2 separate regions of the Homo sapiens genome follow, and region 1 is linked to region 2. The links are contacts of gene promoters, found by promoter capture Hi-C in blood cells and fetal thymus (Javierre and others, 2016). All regions are on one chromosome and are shown on one strand. The core of a region is centred on a gene start or on the middle of the fragment in contact, and the rest is flanking DNA. Distances in the headings are between cores, read along the strand shown.

Evidence for each region. The method cuts DNA at HindIII sites, captures the fragments that hold promoters and counts their contacts. A CHiCAGO score of 5 or more calls a contact.
Region 1: a contact is called between a fragment that was not itself captured here and the fragment with the promoter of SIX4 in region 2, in 3 of 17 cell types (endothelial precursors, M0 macrophages and M1 macrophages). The highest score is 10.4, in endothelial precursors.

Annotation. Positions count from the first base shown.
Region 1 is chr14:61,237,172-61,241,266 of GRCh38, reverse strand. It overlaps a transcript of PRKCH not described here. Among named protein-coding and RNA genes, the nearest start is that of TMEM30B, 42 kb to the left of the region's middle. The HindIII fragment of the contact is 795 bases long and covers 1,634-2,428 here.
Region 2 is chr14:60,721,732-60,725,932 of GRCh38, reverse strand. SIX4 (SIX homeobox 4) reads left to right here and starts at 1,582. Exons shown (of 3, transcript NM_017420.5): 1 at 1,582-2,721. The coding sequence starts at 1,859. RefSeq lists silencers at 2,100-2,169, 3,448-3,517. The HindIII fragment of the contact is 4,809 bases long and covers 876-4,201 here.

The sequences.
Region 1 (4,095 bases), core at 782-3,281, 510 kb before region 2:
GTGCACCCAGAGAGGACATGGAAATTCTGTGCCCCTTCCTCACATAACCTCACCCTATACACTTCTTTATCTGTGTCCTTTGTAGTAACCCTTATAATAAACCAGTAAATGTAAGTAAGTATTTCCTGAGTTCTGTGAGCCACTTTGGCAAATTAATTGAATTCAAGGAGGGCGTTGTGGGAATCCTGACTTATCCCAGAGACCCAGACTTGCAACTGGCATCTGAAGTGAAGGCCAGTCTTCTAGAACTGAGTTCTCAACCTGTGGGATCTGATGGTACCTCCAGGTACATAGTGTCAGAATTGAATTAGAGCTGTAGAATTGACGCTTGCTTGGTGTGTGGGGAAAAAACCTCACACATTTAGTTACTGAAGTGTTCTGTGTTGTGAGAGTATAGTAGGAGAAACTGAGTTTGTTTTTCCTCAATAGCCTCAGATTTGGTGTCAGAAGTGGGATTTACTAGCCTGGCCTCTGACTCACAGGAACATGTGATTTTGGGTAAAAAGGACAAATGGGTGGAGGGTGATAAATATGATTCTCAGGTGACCATATGGCCACCTATTAATACAGGAGCTGTTAAGAAATAATTTTTAGGCAGCTGGAAAGGGTGAAGGTTCTCGGTGGAACTTTCCTTTAATAAAGAGCAACCCCCGAACCATTTCCTTTCTAACCGAAAGAGGCTTGAAAAACCAGACTGGCAATCATTGATATGCAAATGCAGATGGCTAGAAACCAGGTCCACCCAACTGGCAGTCCTGCCCTCTTATCCTTGTCACCACGTGTGGCAGGTGCCATGGCCACCTCCAGGTAACACCACATGTGCAGGACTTCATGGCAACTCGCATTTGCGTATTAAAAGCTAGGGTGGGAGGGTTTTTTCGAGGGCTACATGAATGACACAGCTGGTTAAACGAATCCCCTGAGCCCTGTGCAAATCAGACACCGCTTCCTCCAACCTCCCAATATAACCAACTGCTTTCTGCGGCATGTGGGGTTTCTCTGTTTGGAGGCTCCCTCCCTCCCTCTGTACAGGGGAGCTGTTTTCTTCTTTCTTCTTTCTTGCCTATTAAACTTTTTACTCCTTAAAATCACTCCACGTGTGTCCGTGTCAATCTTATCAGTGTGAGACAAAGGACCCACGGTGTTTCTACAGTCACTGGAGCCGTATCACCATGATATGAGGCAGTAGCTGTGTTGCACTCAGTTACTAATGGCAAAACCTCCAGTGAAATTTAGAGATGCATTCAACTCCTGGACAGTTGGTTTGCTGGATGCATAAAGAAATGCAAACTTATAATAAACAACAAAAAAGTAAAATATACAATTGTGTGGTTATTGCTATCTGTAATAGCTAAAATGAAATCAAAAGACAGTGCTGGGTCAGATCTTGATGCTACCCCCAGTGCAGACTTCAGTGAGTTAGAACTTCAGTCATTAGCCTCAGAGCCATCTCCCAGAAAAAATTATGCCAGGACTACAGAAAGCACCTCTAAGACCTGTGTTTACCAAGAAGGTAGTCAGTGTGTGGTAAGGGCAAAACAAAGAAGCTATTGAAACCAGAGGGTTTAGTGTGAAGGAATTGTTTCATTTTGTAGACTGGTATCTGAAAGATTCTCCCCAGAGCCTGAAAGCTTAAGGGAATGAATAACTCCTCCCTTCTCAGGCCCAGTCCCAAGGCGCAAGAGCACATTAGCCTGCTTTAGCAAGATAGCAGAAGCAGGAAGAGAGCTGGCCGGAAGACACGTACCCCCTGAAGAGGGAGAGAGAGGCCATCCGGGTACCTCGAAGCAGTTACATCAGATTGAGACACTTCCTGTTTACAGGAGACTATAAAACCCCTGCCCTGTCCTCATTTGGTGCTGACGCCATTTTAGGCCTCAGCCCACCTGCACCCAGGCGCTCATTAAATCAGCGTGTTGCTCCACACCACCTTGTCTTGTTTGTTGGCCCGCTCTCGGGGTTTGAACCAATACAAGAGCCTTGCAGTATCATCAGCTTCCTGAAGAACCCTTAGTAAAATGGATTGTGACAGTTAACTAATTTAGGGGCAGTATCTTTGGTTTTAAATGCTGCAGGGTGGAAGAGTATGTTTGGGTTGATGCAATATCCACAGCTCGCTATGGAACAGTCATGAACAGGAGGTGATTCCTGAGGGAACAGCGAGCCTGGTGAACTTGATAAAAGCCATTTTAAGGTCTGTTTACTCTGAGGAGGGAGATTGCCTGACTCCACCTAGAAATGCTAATTGGAACACTCCAGTTACAGCAGCTAATATGCTTCATATGCAAGCCATGTGGGACCAGCTTTATAATGACTGGGATATTCACCTGATGAATTATGGTAAATTCTGTTATTCAGGGGGCTCCTTTAATGGAGATCCCCATATAACCGTACTGTTTTGCAAACCCAAAAGAAAGTTCGAGAAGCTTTACCCAGTTTGTTGTCACAGCTTCCCTTCACGGGTCTTACAGATGCTAATGAAAACGTTAGATTAATTAACAAGAGAATGGGGAAAAGACAGAGAAGAGAGTAAAAGAACTTTCCAGGAAGGTGGACATTTTTAAATGGTTATTAAGAAATAAGGTGAATAAAGAAAACATTGATAAAGGTGAAACTAAACGGAAAAAGAGGAGAGTCAGGGGATTTGTCTGAGCAAGGTGGAAATCTTTATATGGTTACCAAGAAATGAGGTGAATAAAATGTAAATGTGTGGGGTCAAAACAAAGCTCTTAAGGTTGGATGGACCAACAGGAGCCCCAGCTGGTCCTGCAACATTAAAGGGCTCCAAACAAGTTTGCTGAATTTACCCTAGTTTGGAGAAATATGAAAAGTTAGGAGGCAAAGATTATAATGAGAAAAATGATCTAAAATTGCCTCAAGCAACACTCAGGCAGATTAATCAAGAAAAAGATTGACAAAAGGGCTGGGGTCCCTTGGCTCAATCTCCTGTCAGGGACCCAAAGGCCTTTTGCACAAGAGTGGGTAAAATGGTCAGGGGTGGAGAATTTCCAGGGCTCCTTGACACAGGAACCCAATGTACTGTGATTTCAAAACCTGTCTGTAAAGTCCTAATGGAGGCTATAGTTAGGAAAGTAAGAGTTGACAGAATTAAGATGTTAAATTAATTTAGTCTAAAGCTGCCTACTTACATAGTTTAAGTTTGGCCTAAAGGTTTCTCCATACATAGTGAACCCTAACCTAACTGGATGTATAAACAGACTGTTACTACTTTGCAACAAGTTGCTGTATCTCAGCCAATCACAGGCAGCCAACTCTTCAAGCCTTGTTTAAACAAGGCAAGTGCCAAGCTGTAACCAATACAGTTGTTTCTATACCTCTGTAAACCAAAAAGTATCTAAGACAAGTCTCAATCAGTTTAGGAGTTTATTTTGCCAAGGTTAAGGACATGCTTCAGGAAGGCCTGACCGCAAGTGCCCAAGATGGTTGGGTTACAGTTTGGTTTTATACATTTTAGGGAGACACAGGACACTAAGACATCAATCAATACATGTAAGGTGTACATTGGTTTGGTCAGGAAAAGGGGGACAACTGGAGGTAAGGGTTGGGGGAGAAAGTTCCAGGTTTCTGGGTCATAGGTGGATTCAAAGATTTTCCGATTGACGATTGATTGAAAGAGTTTATCTAAAGCCCTGAATCCATAGAAAGGAGCGTCTGGGTTAAGATAAGGGGTTGTGGAGACCAAAGTTCTTATTATGCAGATGAAGCCTCCAGGTAACAGGATTCAGAGAGAATAGATTGTAAATGTTTCTTGTCAGACTTAAAAAGCTGTCAGACTCTTAGTTAATTCTCTCCTCGATCAGGATGAAGACCTGGAAAGGGAAAGGAGTTCTCTACAGAATGTAGATTTTTTTCACAAGAGACAGCTTTGTAAGGTCATTTCAAAATATGTCAAAGAAATATATTTTAGGGTAAAATACTTCAATTTCTTTTAGGGCCTGCTATCTGTCATGTGATGCTATACTAGAGTTAGGCTGGAATTTGGTATCTTTTTTTTTTTTTTTTTGAAACAGAGTCTTGCTCTGTCACCCAGGGTGGAGTACAGTGGCATGATCTCAGCTTACTGCAACTTCCACC
Region 2 (4,201 bases), core at 333-2,832:
AATTTTAAATCTACCAGCGATGTCAACACATTAGGGTAATGCAAAAACAAGTTAAATCCTACATCAAATGACATCTTGATTGACCAGCAATAAAATAAAGCCTGTCTACAAAAAAAAAGAAAATCTCACCAAGTTTATCATGACGGCAGGTGACCTAGACAGCTGCTTTGTAATATGCTGAAGTAGGCAGCTATGAGTAGCTGGGAAGCATACACAATACAAGGCCACCCTGAAGCAAAGGTTAGGATGATGTCATTAAAATGTTGAATTTTGAGAGGCCGAGGCGGACGGATCACGAGGTCAGGAGATCGAGACCATCCTGGCTAACGTGGTGAAACCCCGTCTCTACTAAAAAATACAAAAAAAAAAAAAAAAAAAAAATTAGCTGGGCGTGGTGGCGGGCGCCTGTAGTCCCAGCTACTCGGGAGGCTGAGGCAGGAGAATGGCGTGAACCCAGGAGGCGGAGCTTGCAGTGAGCCGAGATCACACCACTGCACTCCAGCCTGGGCGACAGAGCGAGACTCCATCTCGGGGGGAAAAAAAGTTGAATTTTGAGAAAGAGCAGCAGCAGGCAAACCCAACTGACCTACAGTAATCAAAGAAGCAGAAATGGATCATCCCTTTTGGAATTAAGATCTTGTGCAAATTACAAAGGAAAGAGACACAACTGCAAACAACAAAAGACTCTACCCCCACTTCAGCATCAAACCAGAGGGCAATCTGTCTATGCTGTGGAAAAGGGCTTCTGATCCTGCACTGATCTGGATGACACCCGCACATTCAGTGTTTCTAGCCTATCATCGTTAAAAAAGAAATACTCATATACTTACATTAAAAAGTTCATGTAGAAAACTTAAATTTCCATATTTAAAGCTTAGATCTCTTCCACACGACTCATCCAGGATAAACTTATGGTTTAATATTCTACATGTTTAATTATACCATGTTCAACTCAGTTGGGTTGCCAGCCCTCCACGTGGCTTAAGGTTAAGTACATTTTTTGAAGGCTTCTTGTTTTTGTCTTCTCAGTGTGCTATTTATGCTGCTAATTATAAGGTTTTCAAGCATTTTTCCCTCTTTGGAATTTTAATTTACTGTAAATGCTTGCCCCTTAGAACATTTCCTAGTGTCATTTTATTTTTGACCGTTTTGAATACAAAATCCTTGATAAAGACATCCAAAAAGAGGGAGAATGGGGAACAGGGACATACTGGGGGGCTTCTGAATTGTCCTCTGAAGTTTTGTCATCTAGATGCTGAGGGTGGTCTCTTTGTTAAAAATTTAACCATCCAGACCTTAAGGCCACACAATTAATATTCCCTCTGGAATTGTAGGGCCTCTGTTTGAAAGAGTTGTCCAGTTTTCAGGCCACATTAGGTAATTTCCCGCCCAGGAGCGTGGCTTGGAAAGAATGTCGGTGTTTTCCTTCAGGTATAGGTGCCTGGGGGTCAGGAGGGGAGGGAAAGGCGAGGGGTGGAGTGGGAGGCGGGTGATCGACAGGGATAGAAACTGTGTCTCCTCCTCCCTCTGAATGCGAAATAGCCAATGAGGTGGCTAGGCCGGGCCGGCCCGGCCGCCACTGCCATATAGTATGCAGCAACCGGAGGAGTCACGTTGGGGGAACGGCAGAAAGCAGCTATCCGTTTACACTACTTTGCTCTAACAGCTATCTTAATGGTGACTGCGTGGCCGGGGGGAAACCTGATCGGCCAGATACAGCCGAAACCAGGAGGGAGGGAGTGGGCTTTCCGGAGGGGGAGAGGAGGGAGGGAGACGAAGGAGGAGGAGTAAGAGAGGAGGAAAGAAAGAGGAAAAGAGTGCGAGGGAGTGAGGGAGGGAGGAAAATAAACAACAAAAAATGTCCTCTTCCTCCCCCACCGGGCAGATCGCAAGTGCGGCGGACATCAAGCAAGAGAATGGGATGGAAAGCGCCTCGGAAGGGCAGGAGGCGCACCGAGAAGTGGCGGGGGGCGCGGCGGTAGGGCTGAGCCCCCCGGCTCCAGCCCCTTTTCCCCTGGAGCCGGGGGACGCCGCGACCGCTGCCGCCAGGGTGAGCGGAGAGGAAGGGGCAGTGGCGGCGGCGGCGGCCGGAGCGGCGGCGGATCAGGTACAACTCCACTCGGAACTTCTGGGCAGGCACCACCACGCCGCCGCCGCCGCCGCGCAGACCCCGCTGGCCTTCTCGCCCGACCACGTCGCCTGCGTGTGCGAGGCACTGCAGCAGGGGGGCAACCTGGACCGCCTGGCCCGGTTCCTGTGGTCCCTGCCCCAGAGCGACCTGCTACGTGGCAACGAGAGCCTGCTGAAGGCGCGGGCGCTCGTGGCCTTCCACCAGGGCATCTACCCCGAGCTCTACAGCATCCTCGAGAGCCACAGCTTCGAGTCGGCCAACCACCCGCTGCTGCAGCAGCTCTGGTACAAGGCGCGCTACACCGAGGCCGAGCGAGCCCGCGGCCGGCCGCTGGGAGCCGTAGACAAGTACCGGCTGCGCAGGAAATTCCCCCTGCCCCGCACCATCTGGGACGGCGAGGAGACGGTGTATTGTTTCAAGGAGAAGTCGCGCAACGCGCTCAAGGAGCTCTACAAGCAGAATCGCTACCCTTCGCCCGCCGAGAAGCGGCACCTGGCCAAGATCACCGGCCTCTCCCTCACCCAGGTCAGCAACTGGTTCAAGAACCGCCGGCAGCGCGACAGGAACCCCTCCGAGACCCAGTCCAAAAGGTGAGCGCCAACTTTCCTCCTCCTCCCCCTTCCTCTCCCCCACCCCCTTCCCGGCTTTCTTTTCCTCCAAGTGCTCGCAAACATGGCGCTTACCTTCCCCACCAGCCTGGTCCGGCTGCCCACCTCTCCCCGCCCCCTACCTCGCTCCCCGGCCGGCAGAGGTAGGGGGCGGCGGAGGCGGGGGGCGGGGGAACCTCCCTCCTTACCCTCCCCCTCTCCCCCCAGAAGTTTCTGGTCGCCCGCCTAGGTCTCAGTCCCCGCCCCCACCTCGGCTGGTCACTGCTGCCCAGCTTCCCACCCCCATCCCGCTGGCTTTGAAGTTGCCACCCTCTCCCCGTTTCTGGAGGGGCTAACGAAGCAAATGTGGACACCGGCACCGTAGCTCTCCCTGCCGCCCGAGGCCCGCAGAGACTGCCGGCGCCGGCCGGGGTCTGCACCTCCGCGAGGTCACACCGGGCCTGGCGCGCGCGCACGCTCCCGGATCCCCAGGGTTCAGCCGCCCCCCGGGCCTGCGCTGGAGGTCGCGGTGGCTGCTCTGGTGAAGGGAAGAGAGTGTTGTGGGACTGGCGGCGCAGAAGGGGTCTCGGAACGTCGAGGTTTCATATGACAGAGTTAATCATTCACCCTGCCCCTATGGTTCCCTTAGCGGCCGCGGCAACGTGGGGTGCTGGTGCAGCTCGGCTCTGTCATGTTTTGAAACCTGATTCTGAACTCCTTAGGATCGGGTTTCAGCGCAGCCGGGGTAGCAGGGCTGAAGGGCTGCTTCCTCCCTCGGCCCCCGAACGCTGCTTGGCTCCCTCCTGGTACGGTAGTTATGGGTGGGGGGCAGGCCGGCTTACGGCGGGCGGCAGCAAAGGAGTGGGGGCGCTCCCACCCCACTGGGTTTGAGCTTTTTGCCTGGCAGACTGCTTTCCCCCTCTGGTAAAAAAAATACCGGATTTTCCACCTCTTTTGTGCGTCCTCCCGAGTCAGACACTTGGTGTGTGCGTCTGTGTGTTTTGTTGGACGAAACAAAGTAAGGAGAAGGTCGCCTAAAGACCTGGTGTCTCCAGCCCCGCGGGGATAGGAGAGAAAGAATCCAAAAGCAGCTCGAAGGTTCTTCTCGGGGAAGCAAACTGGGAGCCGGGGATCCAGCCCGCCTGCGCCAGGTGAAGGTGATCACCAGCGCATTCCAGAGCCGGTCTCAGCCCGCCCTTGCCGCTTCTGGGCCCCTGTGGGGGTCCGACGGCTCGGGCTCCGGCGTTCCTCGCCCAAGGCTGGGAGGGAGGCTTGGTGCCCTATCCGGCCCTCGCGGTAACCAAAACAAAAGGTGCACCGGGATGTGCGTGCGCCTTCCGCAGATATGCGGAGAGGTCCAGAGAAGGCGCTTTGGTTACGCCGAGCCACCTGCCCTGCGCCCACTAGAGGCCGCGGATCCCGCGCTCGGAAACCAACGGAATCCGCAGGGCCGGGGCAGAGGGTGGCAAGGGGGCACCGCGAG